6 separate regions of the Homo sapiens genome follow, and regions 1, 2, 3, 4 and 6 are each linked to region 5. Evidence: promoter capture Hi-C in human tissues and cell types (Jung and others, 2019). All regions are on one chromosome and are shown on one strand. Each heading gives the region's core, a stretch centred on a gene start or on the middle of the fragment in contact. The rest is flanking DNA. Distances are from core to core; before and after follow the strand shown.

What was found. Contacts are between HindIII fragments. The study calls those that stand out against the background at their distance.
Region 1: a contact is called between a fragment that was not itself captured here and the fragment with the promoter of SLC38A2 in region 5, in 1 of the 25 tissues and cell types used here (hippocampus).
Region 2: a fragment that was not itself captured here is called in contact with the fragment with the promoter of SLC38A2 in region 5 in 1 of the 25 tissues and cell types used here (mesenchymal stem cells).
Region 3: a fragment that was not itself captured here is called in contact with the fragment with the promoter of SLC38A2 in region 5 in 2 of the 25 tissues and cell types used here (IMR-90 fibroblasts and mesenchymal stem cells).
Region 4: a fragment that was not itself captured here is called in contact with the fragment with the promoter of SLC38A2 in region 5 in 1 of the 25 tissues and cell types used here (IMR-90 fibroblasts).
Region 6: a fragment that was not itself captured here is called in contact with the fragment with the promoter of SLC38A2 in region 5 in 1 of the 25 tissues and cell types used here (lymphoblastoid cells).

The regions. Positions count from the first base shown.
Region 1 is chr12:46,099,499-46,102,312 of GRCh38, forward strand. No RefSeq gene overlaps it. Among named protein-coding and RNA genes, the nearest start is that of SCAF11, 110 kb to the left of the region's middle. The HindIII fragment of the contact is 3,710 bases long and covers 1-2,814 here.
Region 2 is chr12:46,733,779-46,736,494 of GRCh38, forward strand. No RefSeq gene overlaps it. Among named protein-coding and RNA genes, the nearest start is that of SLC38A4, 91 kb to the right of the region's middle. The HindIII fragment of the contact is 3,722 bases long and covers 1-2,716 here.
Region 3 is chr12:46,876,224-46,878,923 of GRCh38, forward strand. No RefSeq gene overlaps it. Among named protein-coding and RNA genes, the nearest start is that of SLC38A4, 52 kb to the left of the region's middle. The HindIII fragment of the contact is 5,424 bases long and covers 1-2,700 here.
Region 4 is chr12:46,689,580-46,692,285 of GRCh38, forward strand. No RefSeq gene overlaps it. Among named protein-coding and RNA genes, the nearest start is that of SLC38A4, 140 kb to the right of the region's middle. The HindIII fragment of the contact is 3,931 bases long and covers 1-2,706 here.
Region 5 is chr12:46,371,262-46,374,065 of GRCh38, forward strand. It overlaps SLC38A2 (solute carrier family 38 member 2), which reads right to left and starts at 1,512. Exons shown (of 16, transcript NM_018976.5): 1 at 1,248-1,512; 2 at 1-118. The coding sequence starts at 32. It overlaps SLC38A2-AS1 (SLC38A2 antisense RNA 1), which reads left to right and starts at 1,522. Exons shown (of 2, transcript NR_187299.1): 1 at 1,522-1,601; 2 at 2,052-2,517. RefSeq lists enhancers at 442-591, 672-1,001, 691-1,394, 1,252-1,331, 2,012-2,071 and silencers at 1,022-1,221, 1,422-1,761. The HindIII fragment of the contact is 23,415 bases long and covers 1-2,804 here.
Region 6 is chr12:46,710,558-46,713,257 of GRCh38, forward strand. No RefSeq gene overlaps it. Among named protein-coding and RNA genes, the nearest start is that of SLC38A4, 110 kb to the right of the region's middle. The HindIII fragment of the contact is 9,894 bases long and covers 1-2,700 here.

The DNA.
Region 1 (2,814 bases), core at 308-2,807, 270 kb before region 5:
ATTAACAATGAATTCAAATAAATCAGTAAGAAAAAAGCACATAATTGCTTCAAAAATTGACCAAAGTACATGAATATGCAATTCTCAAAAGAAGATATACAAATGGCCAACAAGCATATGAAAAATGCTCAGCATCACTAATTATCAGGGAAATGCAAATTAAAACCACAAGGAGATACCACCTTATTCTTGCAAGAATGACCATAATTAAAAAATAAAAAAATAACAGATGTTGGTGTGGATGTGGTGAAAAGGGAACACTTCTACACTGCTGGTGAAAATGTGAACTAGTAGAACCACAATGGAAAACACTATGGAGATTCCTTAAAGAACTAAAGTAGAACTACCATTAAATCCAGCAATCCCATGACTAGGTATCTACCCAGAGGAAAATAAGTCCTTATATGAAAAAAGACACTTGCACATGCAAGTTTATAGAAGCACAAATCTCAATTGCCAAAATATGGAACCAGCCTAAATCCCCATCTACCAATGAGTGGATAAAGAAAATGCGATATATATATATAACCATGAAATACTACTCAGCCATAAAAAGGAACAAAATAATAGCATTTGCAGCAACCTGGATGGAGTTGGAGACCATTATTCTAAGCAAAGTAACTCAGAAATGGAAAACCAAATATCCTATGTTCTCATTTATAAATGGGAGCTAAGCTATGAGGATGAAAAGGCATAAGAATGATATAATGGACTTTGGGGACTCGGGGAAGTGTGGGAGTGGGGTTAGGTATAAAAGACTACACATTGGGTACAGTGTACACTGCTTGGGTGACAGGTGCTCCAAGTCTCAGAAATTACCATTAAAACTTTTCATGTAACTAAAGGCCACCTCTTACCCCAAAACTATTGAAAACCTGAGTAGTGTATGTATACATCCTAGACAACTCAGGAAATCTCATTAGCCCTGCAAGATATGCATAAACAAATTAAAGCTATGTCTGATCCCACATTGTCACCAGATCAATGGTTTGTGCCCTGGTTTGGGTCAGAACCATCCTGGTGGGAAAAGTTACTTGTGACCTTGATCATAATTGCGGGAATAGGCATACTTCTTTGCTGCAGATTCTACTGCTGTTGTACATTCTGCATGGAAATGCAAGGTAAACTCTCCCAGAGACTTGCAAATCTCCAACAGTTTTCATCTGTCAGCCCAGGTATGTGAGAATATTTCCAGTTCCAGTAGATCAGTTCCATGACAATGTCCTTTAACTACATCCTCATTCAGCAGGAAGTAGGCAGAATGAACACATCGCCCATGTTCCACAGAAATGGAATGGAATTTGGCAGTGGGGAGTTGTAATGAGTACCCTATTTTTAAATATTTTTTTGTTCCTTTCTGTATTAGTTGGGGTTTTCTACAGGGACAGAATTGATAGGATATGTGTATATATAAAAGAAAGTTTATTAGGGAGAATTGACTCCCATGATTACAAGGCAAAGTCCCACAATAGGGTATCTGCAAGCTGGTGAAAGACAGAAACTGGCAGTGACTCAGTCCAACTCCAAAAGCTTCAGCACGAGGAAAACTGACAGCGCAGCCTTCAGTCTGAAGGCCTGGGAGCCCCACAAGTCTTTTGCTGCAAGTTCCAGAGTTCAAAGACTGAAGAACATGGAGTGTGAAGTCCGAGGGTGGGAGGAGAGGAAGCCAAGTGTCCAGCAGGAGAAGAGAGAGAGTGGAAAGACTCAGCAGCAAAGTAATTATCCCTCTTCATCTGCCTGCTTTGTTCCAGCTGCGCTGGCAGCCAATTGGATGGTGCCCACCCACACTGAGGGTGGGTCTTTCTCTTCCAGTCCACTGACTCATGTCAGTCTCCCTTGGCAACACCCTTACAGACACACCCATGAACAACACTTTACCAGCCATTTAGGCATCCCTAATCCAGTCAAGTTGACACCTAATATTAACCATCACACTTTTTCTTTTTCCTCCTTATTTACTTTATGTTTAATTTCTTACAAATGAAATATGACCTTTGCTCTCTTTCTTTCCACCAGGTACAATGTCCTCCTTATCTAATTATACACTTGCTTAGAAGTTCCAGGGACTGAATCTTAAAACAATCCAAGCACCTATAGAATTTTTCCCCACCAGGAGAATACCTCAAGGTTGCAGTTAATTTACAACCTGATTACGCCAGGATGCCCCAGCCCATTCACCAGAGGGGGCAATGACTCAGGACAAGTCATTGGTGCAAGTCACGTAGACCTGCAACTTCTTGCCCCTCCTGCATTCTCCCTCTACTAAGCTTTCCTTTTTAAGCCGTTGCATTCTGTCCAAAATTTGAAATGGTTTCTCTAAGGCATGAAGCTGTTATGGGAGGGGGACAGGGACGTGCTGGGTAGAGAAAAGCGGGTCCTGGGCTAGGGCTTCACCCTCAGGCCTGTGCCCACGGACCTAGGTGAGGACAGGCACTCCTGCCTTTGGCCCAAATGTTGCATTTTCCAAGACCACCCTGGCCTGCCATGCCCACATCCTGTGCCTATAAAAACCCCAAGACCCTAGCAGGAACACACAAGCGGCTGGACGTGGAGAGAAACACATCAGCGGAAGAACACACAAGCGGCTGGATGTCCAGAGGATGTCGAGAACACCAGCATGCCAGCAGGCCATTCTCCCGGTGGAACGTGGAGTTTAGCTGAGGGGGTTGGAAGACGCCTGGGCCGCTGAGTGGCCCAACTTCAGGGGAAAACCTTCCCACTCCATCCACTTCTGGCTTCCCCCATTTGCTGAGTGCTACCTCCATTCAATAAAACCTGCACTCATTCTCCAAGCCCAGGTGTGACCCGATTCTT
Region 2 (2,716 bases), core at 217-2,716, 360 kb after region 5:
CTCTTGGTACCAAAATCTGTATTATTCAGGGTTCTCTAGAGGGACAGAATTAATAGTATACATAAACTCCTATATATATAAGAGTTTACTAAGTAGTATTAACTCACATGATCACAAGGTCCTACAATAGGTCATCTGCAAGCTGAGGAGCAAGGAAGCCAGTCTGAGTCCCAAAGCTGAAGAACCTGGAGTCCAATGTTCAAGTACAGGAAGCATCCAGCACAGGAGAAAGATGTAGGCTGGGAGGCTAAGCCAGTCTAGCCTTTTCACATTTTTCTGCCTGCTTTATATTTTGGCCATGGAGGTAGCTGATTTGATGGTACCCACCCAAGTTAAGGGTGGGTGTACCTTTCCCAGTCCACTGACTCAAATGTTAATCTCCTTTGGCAACACCCTCGAAGACACACCCAGGATCAATACTTTGCATCCTTCAATCCAATCAAGTTGACACTCATTATTAACCATCACAGTAAGCATTTTTTACAATATGTTTAGTATGTGCTAGGCACCATGCTGAGTACTTCACATGCATTGACTCAGTAATCTACAAAAAGTATTGTTAGCTAGAACTTACAGTTGAGGAATTTGAGGCATAGATAATTTGATAATTTAGGAAAGTTTTCCAAAGTTACAAAGGCAGTAAGTGGCAGAATCAGTATTCCAACTCCTGCAACTTCAGTTTATAGTCCTTATGTTTAACCTCTGCACGACACTGTTTCTTTTCTAGTCGATCAAATATGTTCATTTTTAACATTTTTTTACTAATTATTACCTCTATGCAGATATATGTACAAATTCCCTCTATTCCTGTCTTTCCTCACCCACCTCCCAGACTTACGCTTCTCAGCCAAGCTGCATCTTTCTCCACATCACTCAAGATTCACTTTTCATTTTTTTCAAAGATGGTGGATTAGAGGCTTTTAGCATTTTTCAGCCACCTGGAAACAGAAAAATAGTGCATCAAGATCAACTCTGTGAGCTTTCATTCAAGAAAAAAAAAATAGTAATCCGCTGGAATCATGAAGGACATCCTAGATCTTAGGGAGAAGAATATGGACAAACAACCTCCATGGCAGTGTCTAGCTGATAAAAAGAGTGTGTTGAGGCACAACCATCCTCACCCCACACCAAGGCAGATCTTCAGGCATTCAGGGCATCTGTTTATCCAGTTAACAGCCTGAGGCACCCCTCTCATCCTGTGCAGAGAATTTGGTGTAGTGTAGGAGCCCCCTACACTTCATGCCCAGGAAAATCTCCACACATCTGACGTACCCATTCTCCTGGATTTTGAGTTTAGGCTACCTTCACTTCCCATGCAGAGCAATTGGGGCCAAGGAGTTTTCCTAGCTTTATGCCTAGGCACATCTCTGGGTGCTTGGTGGCCACCCGCTGGATTCTCCTTCAGTACTAGTGCTTGTGACTTCCATCGGGGACCTATAGATGGTTCTGTCTGGTTCAGCCCCATCCATCTTGCCCCCACCCCTGGGCTGAGCAGGGTGCTCAGACCACTGTGCACTCCAGGATCAGCCCATTGCCTGAGGTAACAGAGAACTTCTTCCAATAAAGAAGGATCAAGTATGTACCCAACCCTATTGGCTGCAGCCAACTCTTACCTATAAGAATAATCTATGACCTCTAGGTCAAACTGCATAGCCCAATATAAAACTTGCTAATAGAGGTTTATAGGGCTATAGAAACAAAGCCAAAAGACCGTATCCAGAATTCTCTCCAGTTACACCCCCTAGGGAAGTGGGGAAAAAGAAAGAAAAAAATATTATATGGGAAAAAAGAAAGAAAAAACATCTTGTCCATATGAAAATAATTACAAAAATTAGAAGTGCCAGCATCTCCAGATGACAAGAAATCAGTGTAAGAATTCCAGCATCACAAAAAATCTGAATGTTGTGATACCACCAAAGGATCACACTAACTAGCCAATGATAATCCATAACCAAAATAGAAACTCAGAAATGACAGATAAAGAATTCAAAGCATGGATTGCAAGGAAGCACAACAAGATCCAAGACGAGGTTGAAAATCAACACAAAGAAACTTCTAAAGCAATCCAGAAAATGAAAAAAGGGATAAACATCTTAAAAAGAAATTAGTCAGAGCTTCTGGAATTGAAAAACTTACTTAAGGAATTTCAAAATACAACTGAAAGCTTTATCAATAAACTGGACCAAGCAGAATAAATAATTTCAAAGTTTAAGATTGATCTTTTAAACTAACACAGACAGAAATTTAAAAATGAGCAAAATCTTCAAGTAATATAAAATTATGTAAAGTAGCCAAATGTATGAATTATTGACATTCCTGAGAGACAAGGAGAAAAAGTAAACAACATGGAAACATATTTGAAGGAATAGTTCTAGAAAATATCCGTATTTTTGCCAGAGAGATAAACATCCAGATACAAGAAATCCAGAGAACACTTGCTAGATACTTTACAAAATGAGCATAACAAAGGCATATGGTCACCAGACTGTCTGAGGTCAATGGTAAAAAAAAAAATCTTAAAGACAGCTAGAAAAAAATGGTCAGATGACTTTTAAAGGGAAACTCTATTAGGCTAACACTGGACTTCTCAGCAGAAACCTTATAAGCTGAGAGAGATTGGGGGCCTATTTTTGGCATTCTTAAAGTAATTCCAACCATGAATTTTATATTCCATCAAACTAAGCTTTGTCAGCAAAAAGAAATAAAATCTTTTCTA
Region 3 (2,700 bases), core at 16-2,515, 500 kb after region 5:
GAATTTCTAAAGGGATTTAATGTTTGATATTGAATTGTATACTAAAATAAGGTTGTTTTAGACATAAAAGAGTAACAGCAACAATAACAAAGAAGTTGTGACAAAGAGGATTGTTGTACTGAGATTTGATGGATAACTTTGATTCATTTGTTTTATGTGTATCTTGCCTACATCTGTCCATTCATCTCACCATTTCTATCAACTATCTACCTGGTGCAGTTTGATATGTTATAAGCTGTGAGAAGTGAGACAAGGAAAGAACTTTTTGCTGAATTTTTTAGAACATCTGTGATGTGTTGTACATATTAGGCAAATAATAAATACTTACTGAATTAAATTAAATTTAACCAGGATCAAGTTCAGATGGCTTACGGTTGAGATACATGTTGCTATGGCAGCAGGAAGAAAATGATGGAAAAGAAGAAAACAAAAAGCAAGAAAAAGTGAGAAATCAAAGGACAACATTTTCAAGGATGAAGAGTGCTACATCTATTCATTATACATTGTAGATATAGATAATAACAATAGTAATAATGTGGTCAAATTTTAATAAATAAAAAATTGAGTTAAGCTTAATCATACATAGTGCTTTTATTGAAAACTAACACCTCAACAATCACATCTCTTCATGTCACACAGTCATCCATGTGAATGGAACAAATATCAGTAGCCTGAAGGACAATACAATTATTGCAAAAATAATTTGCTTTTTCAGTTAAGGTCCTCACTTATACATGGGTTGGTTCTTTTTTAGCTTTGTGCTGATTTCCTGTAGTCTTCCATTGCATTTAGGCACTAACTCATTTGTCTATGTTTCAGAATGCCAGCGTAAAGGTGAAATAAAGGTAAAACAACAACAATAACAAAAAGGACAGGAAAGAACAACAACAAATAAATGGTGTGGCAATTCTTAGCTGTTCAGTGTCTGACTCCCCTTTCAGTGTTTGGGGAATTGCTCACCTTATGAGTCTCAGTGGGAGACTCAGGCTCTGCTCATTATTAAAGTTGAATACATCAGGAACTTGCTTTCCCCACCTTGTTTGCAGTTAAGCCCAACACACCCCACCGTGGAGCCACAGAGATATGGAGGATGCACTCTCTGGCAACAGTGGAGGATGCACTCTCTGGCAGTAGTAGTGGGAACGCCAGTGGTGTGAGCACTGCATGGCTTCCCGAAACAAGCCCTCTGGTGTGACGAGACAGTTTCTACATTCTGTAACTCTATACTGGATTCTCCACCCAAAGCCACAGCTTGTCTGTCAAGGGCCTTCATATGAAAAAGGAAAAGGTGCCCCTGGCAGATGCAGGCTCTGTCAGCACATGGTGGCTCTGCCTCTGTCCTTCCTGTGGGCCCCTCAGCTGCCCATGCTTCTTTTCTTAAATAGATTTTCTGCCAAAATCAGCTAACATTTGCGTTACTGCTTACAACTAACAACCTTACTGATACACATAATAAGGCTACCACACCTGCCCAGCCATATCCATAAACCTTTCCATTATGCTATGTGCCTTTTAACATACAGTATAATTCTTTTATATGGATACCGCCTTATTATCTGGAATTATCACAGCACCCAGTGGATGCCCCAAAACAACACAACTAGCAAAGATTCAATATTCAGTTAGAGTAAATAATTCATTTACTTATACTTTAAAACATTTATATGCAATTTTAAATGACACAACTTCAAGTATTTAAATGAGATAGTTTAAAAGTTAAATTCCTTCACTATGTGTGTGATGGCTACACTAAAACCCCAGACTTCACTACAGCACAATATATGTATGTAATAAATCTGCACTTGTACCCTCTAAATCTATAAAAGATTTTTGTATTTTAAGGAAATTTTTAAAATAAAATAAAAGTTAAGTATCTTTTGCCTTGGGGAAGGAGGAAAGAATAATAGTTATCAGCTAGTATATGGGGAACTATTTAAAGTACATGTAACAAAAAATGGTTCATGGGAAGAGTAAACTGGACCACCTGGAGACCCTACTCTCCTGTCCATTGAGAGACTACAATCCTCATGCTTGCTGTGCATTTTCTCCAATACCATCATGGCCACTGTAGCTGCCACTACTAGTGAAGACACACCAGGATCCCACTGTAATCACTGGGCTTATTTCAAAGACACAGCTGCAAATTTCACCACCCCAAATCAACAGAATATGCATTCTTTGCAGTGCGACATGGCACTTATTCTAAAATCAACCACATAATTGGAAGTAAAACACTCCTCAGCAAATGCAAAAGAACGAAAATCATAACAATCTCTCAAAACATAGGGCAATCAAATTAGAACTCAGAATTAAGAAACTCACTCAAAACCACACAATTACATGGAAACTGAACAACCTGCTTCTGAATGACTACTGGGTAAATAATGAAATTAAGGCAGAAATAATGAAGTTCTTTTAAACCAATGAGAACAAAGAGACAATGTACCAGAATCTCTGGGACACAGCTAAAGCAGTGCTAAAAGGGAAATTTATAGGAATGAATGCCCACATCAGAAAGGTAGAGAGATCTCAAATCAATACTCTAACACCACAATTAAAAGAGCTAGAGAGGCAAGGGCAAACTAATCCAAAAGCTAGCAGAAGACAAGAAATTACTAAGATCAGAGCAGAATTGAAGGAGATAGAGACATGAAAAACCCTCCAAAAAAATCAATGAATCCAGGAGCTGGTTTTTTGAAA
Region 4 (2,706 bases), core at 82-2,581, 320 kb after region 5:
TGAGCCAAGATCGTGCCACTGCACTCCAGCCTGGGTGACAGAGTGAGACTCTGTCTCAAAAAAAAAAAAAAAAAGAAACAGTAGACAAAACTTCCCAAATTTAATGAATAACATTAATCAATAAACCAAAGACACTTAATAAACTCTTAAGTAGGATAAGAAAAGAGATCCACACCTAAACATATCATTATCTGTTGAAAACTAAAAACAAAGAGAACCTTAAAGCAAGAGAAACAACCTACCATGTAGATTAACAGTTGATTTCTCATTAGAAACCATGGAGGCCAGAATAGGCATATTCGAAGTGATAAAAGAAAAAGTCTGTCAACCAATAATTCTACAAACAACAAGACTATATGCCAAAAAAGAAGAAGACATTGAGACTTTTCAAAACAGAGACAGAGAATTTGTTACTAGCAGACCTAACCTACAAGAAATGCTAATGGGATTACTTCAAGCTGAAGTGAAAGGACACTCAACAGCAACCTATATCTATTTGAATAAAGAGCACTGCTAAAGGTAAATAAAGAGCACTGCTAAAAGTAAATATATATGAAATTATAAATATTGTATATAAAAGACAGCTGAGGAAACCACACTATAAATCTTAATTTCAATAGCATACAAACACTTGCTTCCATAAAGCTCCATTCCCTCCCCCCATTTGTGATATATTATCATACAAATTACATCTTTATACCTTATATGCCCATGAACACAGATTTAACATTTTACCATGAAAACAAAACATACCAAAACTTATGGGACGCAGCTAAAGCAGTGAGTAGAGGGACATGCATAACTTTAAATGCCTATACTATAAGATCTCAAATTAACAACCTAATCTACCACCTTAAGAAACTGGAAAGAGAAAAGTAAACTAAACTTAAAACAAGTAGAAGCAACAAAGCAGCAATAAATGAAATAGAAAATCAATATAAAAATCAACAAAACCAAAAGTTAGTGCTTTGGAAAGATTAACAAAATTGACAAGCCTTTGGCTAGACTGGCTTAGAAAAAAGAGATACAACTCAAATTAATAAAAATTAGTAACAAAACAGGGACATACTGACCTTACAGCAATAAAAAGGGTTATACGGAAATAATTGTATGCAAATAAATTAATTAACATTGATAAAATTGACAAATTCCTAGAACACAAACTGCTGGGACTAAGAGAAATAGAAACTTTGAAAAAAAAACTATAGTAATTAAAGAGATTGAGATTGAATAGTAATCAAAAACCTTCCCACAAGGAAATGCCCAGGCCCAGATGCCTTCACCAAATGTTAATTCTACCAAATGTTTAAAGGAAATTAACATCAAACTTTCACAAACTCTTCCAAATAAAAGAGGAAGAGGGAACATTTTTCCATTAATTATATGAGGCCAATATTACCATGATATCAAAACCTGACAAAGACATCCCAAGAAAACTACAGACCAATATCCCTTATGAACATAGATGCAAAAACCCTCAACCAAATACTAGCAAACCACATATAACAATATATAAAAACGATAATACACCATCACCAAGTGAAACTGATCCCAGGAATGGAGGGTTGGGTCAACATGTGAAAATCAATAAATATAACACACAATATTAATAGAATAAAGAACAAAAAAATCATCTCAATAGATGCAGAAAAAACATTAGACAATATTCAATATCCATTCATAGTAAAAACAGTCAATAAACTTGGAGTATACAGGAACTTTCTTAACATAATATAAAGCATGTATGAAAACCCCACAGCTAACATACTTAATGATAAAAGACTGAAAGCTTTCTAAGATTAGGAACAAGACAAGAATTTCTACTCATCACTTCTTCAACATTGTTCTGAACATTCTAGTCAGAGAAATTATTTAAGAAAGAGAAATAGAGGCATTCTAATCTGGATGGATCAGAAAGGAAGAAATAAAATTATTTCTATTCACAGATGGTATTGTCTTATGTAAGTAACTTGCCAACAAATACCAAAGAAAATGATTGAAATAAATAACTTCAGCAAAGTTGAAGAATACAAGATTAATATACAAAAATCAACTGTATTTCTGTGTAGTAATAGTGAGGAATCCAAAAATGAAAATAAGAAATTTCATTTACAATACCATTAAAGAACAAGATACTTAAATTTAACAAAAGAATTGCAATACTTGCACACAAAAAACTGTAAAGCAGTGTTGAAAGACATTAAAGACCTAAGTAAATGGACAGATAACCCATCTATATGGGTTGGATTACTGAATAGTGTCAGGATGGCAATATTCCCCAAAGTGACCTACAGATGCAATGTAATCTTTATCAAATCCCAGCTGTCTTTCTTTTTATGTAGAAATTGACAAGTTGTTTGTAAATTCCATATGAAAATGCAAGGGACCCAGAATAGCCAAAACCATCTTGAAAAAGAATAGAGTTTTGAAAGTTCCTAATTTCAAAATGTATTAAAAAGTTACAGTAATCAAGACAGTGTGTTAGTTGCATAAGGATAGACTTATACATTAATGTAATAGAATTGGGAGTCCATAAATAAACTTAACATTTATGGTAATTGATTTTTCATATGGATGTCAATATGATTCAATGGGAAAGAAGAGTATTTTCAAAAAATGTTTCTGGGACATATGGATATCCACAAGCAAAAGAATGAAGTTGGACCCCTATCACATTATCATATAGAAAAATTAACTCAAAATGGA
Region 5 (2,804 bases), core at 262-2,761:
ATACTGAATCGTCCCATTTCGGCCTTCTTCATGCTAAGCACTGGGAGGAATCGGGTGCAGCTAGTAGCGCTGGGCTCCTTTTGTCCTTGGCGGTGGGTGCAGCGGCCCGCGAGTCGGCCTGCGAAAGTAGAGGCGGCGCGTCAGGACCGCAGCGCCAGCCCGCCGCGGTCACGTGACGCCGCCCGGAGGCGCAGCGCGGCTGATTCATCCCAGGCCAGGCGAGTGGAAAAGTACCAGCCGCGCGCGAGGGGCGGGGGCGCGCCGAGGGGCGGAAAAGTACAGACGGCGGAGCCGCGGGGAGAACAAAGATGATGCCACCGCTGTGTTGCGGCCGTCGAGGCCCCCTACTCCGGCAGATTTCAGTATTTCACCCTCTCTATTGTCCCTCGTCGGAGTGGAGGGGGCGAGGGGGGGTTCTGTTTTGCTTTTTCCCAGTCGCTCCAAACTTGCACAGGCACTCAGGGCACACATCCAGCCCCGACCCTGGCTCGTGTGCATGCAACCTAGGCGCACGGCTTTCCGTTTCTAGCATTTGGAACAGCAATGCTGCGTAATCTGTCCTTTACTGCCCGGAGTCCCCACACGGAGAAATGCCTCTGCCGCAGACAGCCTTCCCCAGGAGGCGGAAAGGGCCGACACTACTCCTCTCTCGAGGGGGGCGAACGCCCGGGCCCCGGGAGCTGGGGGTTTGTTTACACACGCGCGCCAGTGCCCTCAAGCACACCCGTCCACAGGCAGCTGGCCCGCGAGTGCTACGCCCGCCCAGCCCCTCCTATGTCCGGAAAGAAAACTGATGCAATATCGATCGTCGATTGTCAAATGTTCCCAACTCGTCTTCCCCAATCTTGGCCTCTCCTGTAATACATGCCCAAGCCCACCTCCGCCGCCCCCAGATTCCTGGCTCCCTGGACTTAATTTTTTTTTTTTATTAAATGCAAATCAGTCACAAGACTTGCCGCAGCAGAGCCGCTGGCCGGGCTAGCTCCCCTCCCCCTAATGGGAAGATGCGGCTCCGCACCGTGCAGGCACGCGGCCCCCGCCCAGCGCCCGCTCTCCTACCCACGTCGCGGGCGCGACACCCGCGCGGCGGGCCAGGGTGGAAGGCTGGCCAGCCCAACCGACAACGCCCGCCTCGAAAGGAAACGGACCCCGCGGCCGCCTTCCCGCGCGGCCCCTCCCGGAAGCCCCTCCCCCACTCTCGCCCGGGCCCCGCGCCCTTCCCACAGACGCCCCCCCGCACGCGTTACCTCGGTGGTCTCTATTCTCACGCAGACGTCTTCAGTGGGTTTCTCTCAGTCAAATACAAATCATAAAAAACAAACAAAAAATTTCCCCAAATCCAACAACAGGCAGGAAAAATAATTTTAATAAAAAAGGAAAAGACAAATTGCCGCCCCAATCCTCCGGCGTCCGCCGTGTCAAGGGAAAGGCGCGAGCGTGCGGTAACGCGTGGTCGGGCTGCTGCTAGCAGTACTGGAAAGGCGTTCTAAGGCGGCGGCGTCGCGCGGCTGTGGAGCAGCCCTGCGAGCGGCGGGTTATAGCGGCACCCCGGGGACGCGTCAGTGGGCGGGACCGCGGCCGCCCGGGCGCCTTCTCTTTGTGTATCAACACCACCTGGGCCCCGCCTCCGACCCGCCCAGACCTAGGCCCCGCCTCCCTGCCCCTCCCTCTGCGGCCCGCGCCCGCGGCCCAGCCCCGCCCGCAGGCGCCCCCAAGACTCTCCCGCAAAGCCCAAGCCCACTCTCTCCAGCTTTCTAGATAGTCTGGAAAGACCCCCAGATGCTTCCCCTGCCTATCCTTTTCAGCCAGGGTTGGTGCTCAACACATGCGGTTGTCTTTGAGGAGCCATCTCCTTAAAATTTTCTCCTGTCCGAGTCACCAGCAGTCCTTGCTTTCGGGGGACACATCAAGGCTTTTGGGGGACACCACCCTCCCACCAAACACTTTCTTGATTGTTATTTTTGTGATTTACAGTGAAGTTTTGTCTCACAAACTTGGGCCAAGGCAGCAAGGTTGTCCTGATGGTTTGTTGTTCTTTCTTTTCCACCTAGACCTGCTTTCACTCTTCAAAACTAGCCGGAGGTCGGCGAGCAGCTCCTTTTCGGGATGTGCTTTTTGTACGGCCATGGAAACTGGACTAGCGGAAAGGCTACCTTTTGGCCAGCAAGCCAGGCCCCTTAGAAAGAGGCCCCAGTGGGGAGCCCGGCGCTCCTAAGGCCGTTTGGGAGTCCCCAGTTTTCCACTCGCTGACACGTTGCTTCTCTTATCCCACCACCGCCGCCCCGGGCAAAGGCACTGCCTTGTCTGAATGCGGGTCTGAGGCGCTTTCTGCGGAGCCTGGTCCTTTCCCTTCAATGGTGATGTGTGTGGTCTTGCTGAGCCAGGCAACTAGGGGGACCCTTCGCTGTGGAAAAATTGGTGCTGCGGGAAAGGCAAGACTCACTCCCTTGCAGGAAACAAAGACCCCTTAGGAGAGAGAAATGTTCATGGAATGAATGAATAAACAAGTTTGACCTACTGCTCTCTTCCTTTTGGGGACTTGGGAGAAATTGGGCAGGGCATAGAGGAAAGGGCTGGGTGTGATCGCAGTTTTTGCTTTCAATGTTTTACTGAGGAAATCCGTACAACTGCCTATTTCCGCCGCACGTGAGGCTTCGGGTGCCCTCGCCTGCACCAGTGTTTATGATTGACAAGCGAGGTCCCGATTTCCCCCATCACACTCCTGTGTTCCCTACCCCAAACCTTCTACTCTGTTCAGGCCAGTCTTCCCTACCGCAAACCTTCTACTCTGTTCAGGCCAGTCT
Region 6 (2,700 bases), core at 138-2,637, 340 kb after region 5:
AATAAGAGGCACCAAACCTTGCTAAGAGCACACTGGCAGACCTGAGGCTGAGGTATAGACAGTATGTCTAAAAATCACTGAGAGTGTGACCTCTTAAAAGATGTCAGCATGGAGGAGCAATGCCAATAGCCAGGTGGAACAATGACGATTCATGGCAGTGAATACCAGTGTAGACAGATGGCTAAGGACTACACGCCTCCCTTGATGCCATGTTGGCACATGAACCCCAAACATAGATGCTACCTTATAGTGAAGGAAGGGCAGGGGACAATCCCCAATGACTGAACCTATGACGACTACTTATAAGAGAACATCTGGTATTTGACTTATAAATGAGAACACATGGTATTTGACTTTCTGTTTATGAGTTGTCTCACTTAAGATAGCAGCCTCCAATTCCATCCATATTGCTGCAAAAGACATGAATTGATTCTTTTTATGGCTGAATAGTACTGCATTTGTATATGCAATACTATTGCATATTTTATTAATCTAATCATCTGTTGATGAACACTTAGGTTGATTTTATATCTTTACTATTTTTCACAGAATTAGAAAAAAATCATAAAATTAATATGGAACCAATAAAGAGCCTGAATAGCCAAAGCAATCCTAAGCAAAAAGAACAAGCTGGAGGCATCATATTACCCAACTTCAAATTACACTACAACACTATAGTAACCAAAACAGAATGGTACTAGTACAAAAATAGATACATAGATCAAGGGAACGGAACAGAGAATCTGAAATAAAGCCACATATCTACAGCCAACTGACCTTTGACAAGGTCAACAAAAACATACACTGGGGAAAGGATACCCTTTTCAATAAACTGTGCTGGGAAAATTAGATTGCCATATACAGAAGAATAAAACTGAACCCCTTTCTCTCACCATATACAAAAGACAATGCAAGATGAATTAAACACTTAGATGTAAGACTTGGAACTAGGAAAATAGTAGAAGAAAACCTAGGGAGAACTTTTCTGGACATTGGTATAGACAAAGAATTCATGACTAAGAACTCAAAAGCACAAGCGTCAAAACCAAAGATAGACAAATGGGACTTAATTAAACTAAAGGGTTCTGCACAGCAAAAGAAATAATCAATAGACTGAACAGACAACATGGAGAATGAAAGAAAATATTTGCAAACTATGCAACCAATAGGGGACTAATATTCAGAATTTATAAGGAAGTCAGACAACTCAACAACAACAAATACCAAATAACCCTGTTAAAAAGTGGGCAAAAAAACATGAGCAGACATTTTTTTGAAAGAAGTCACAAAAAACATATGAAAAAATGCTCAACATCACTAATCATCAGAGAAATGCAAATTAAAACCACAATGAGATATCATCTTACACCAGTTAGAATGGCTATTATGAAAAATACAAATAAAAAAAAGCAGATGTTGGCAAAGATGCAGAGAAAAGGAATGCTTACAGACTGTTGGCGGGAATGTAAATTAGTACAACCTCTGTGGAAAACAGCGTGGATATTTTTCAAAGAATTTAAAATAGAACTACTATTTGATTCAGCGATCTCACTACTGGGTATCTACCCAAAGAAAAATAAGTAAGTTTATTTTTAAACAAATATCTGCATTTGTATGTTTATTGCAGTATCCTTCCTATCCTTTATATTATCTTTGTCTAGTATTTAATTCTATACATATAGCAATTCCCACAAGGCATTTTTATAAATGCTTTGAAGAAATAATTTTAACTTAAATTTCCTCCCTCTAATACCCTTCATTCTTCTCTTCACCTCCATGTTTCCATCTTGGATCATTTTTTTTGAAATCAATTTTTTTGAAAAAATATCTTTGTGAGTTTTTTATTTCTGTAAAGGTTTACTGGCATGAGTTCTGTCCTTTTTTTGTCTAAAAACTATCTTTATTTCGTTTTCTTTTTTTAAAAAATATTTTTTCTACCTGGGCACAGTGGTGCACACCTGTAATCCCAGCAATGTGGGAGGCTGAAGCAGGAGGATCACTTGAGCCTAGGAGTTCGAGAGCAGCCAGGGAACATGGTGAGATGCTATCCCAAAAACCTTTTTTTGTTGTTGTTGACTTAAAAATATATTTTTTATTTTATTTATTTGTTTTTTATTTATTTTTGTTTGGTTTGGTTTGGTTTGGTTTTGAGATGGAGTCTCTCTTCGTCACCCAGGCTGGAGTGCAGTGGTGCGATCTCGGCTCACTGCAAGCTCTGCCTCCCAGGTTCACACCATTCTCCTGCCTCAGCCTCCAGAGTAGCTGGGACTACAGGTGCCCACCACCACGCCCAGCAAATTTTTTGTATTTTTAGTAGAGATGGGGTTTCACCGTGTTAACCAGGATGGTCTCGATCTCCTGACCTAGTGATCCGCCTGCCTCGGCCTCCCAAAGTGCTGGGATTACAGGCGTGAGCCACCATGCCTGGCCCTATTTCATTTATTTTATTTTGATTCAAGGGATGCATGTGCAGGTTTGTTACATGGATATGTTGTGTGATGCTGACATTTGGGCTTCTAAAGATCCTGCTGCCCAATTAGTGAACATAGTACCTGGTAGGTAGTTTTTCAACCCTTGCCCCCACTCCTGCCATCTCACTTTTTGGAGTCCCAGTATTTATTGTTCCCGGCTTTGTGATCATGTATACCAAATGTTTAGCTCTCACTTATAAGTGAGAACATGCAGTATTTGGTTTCCTGT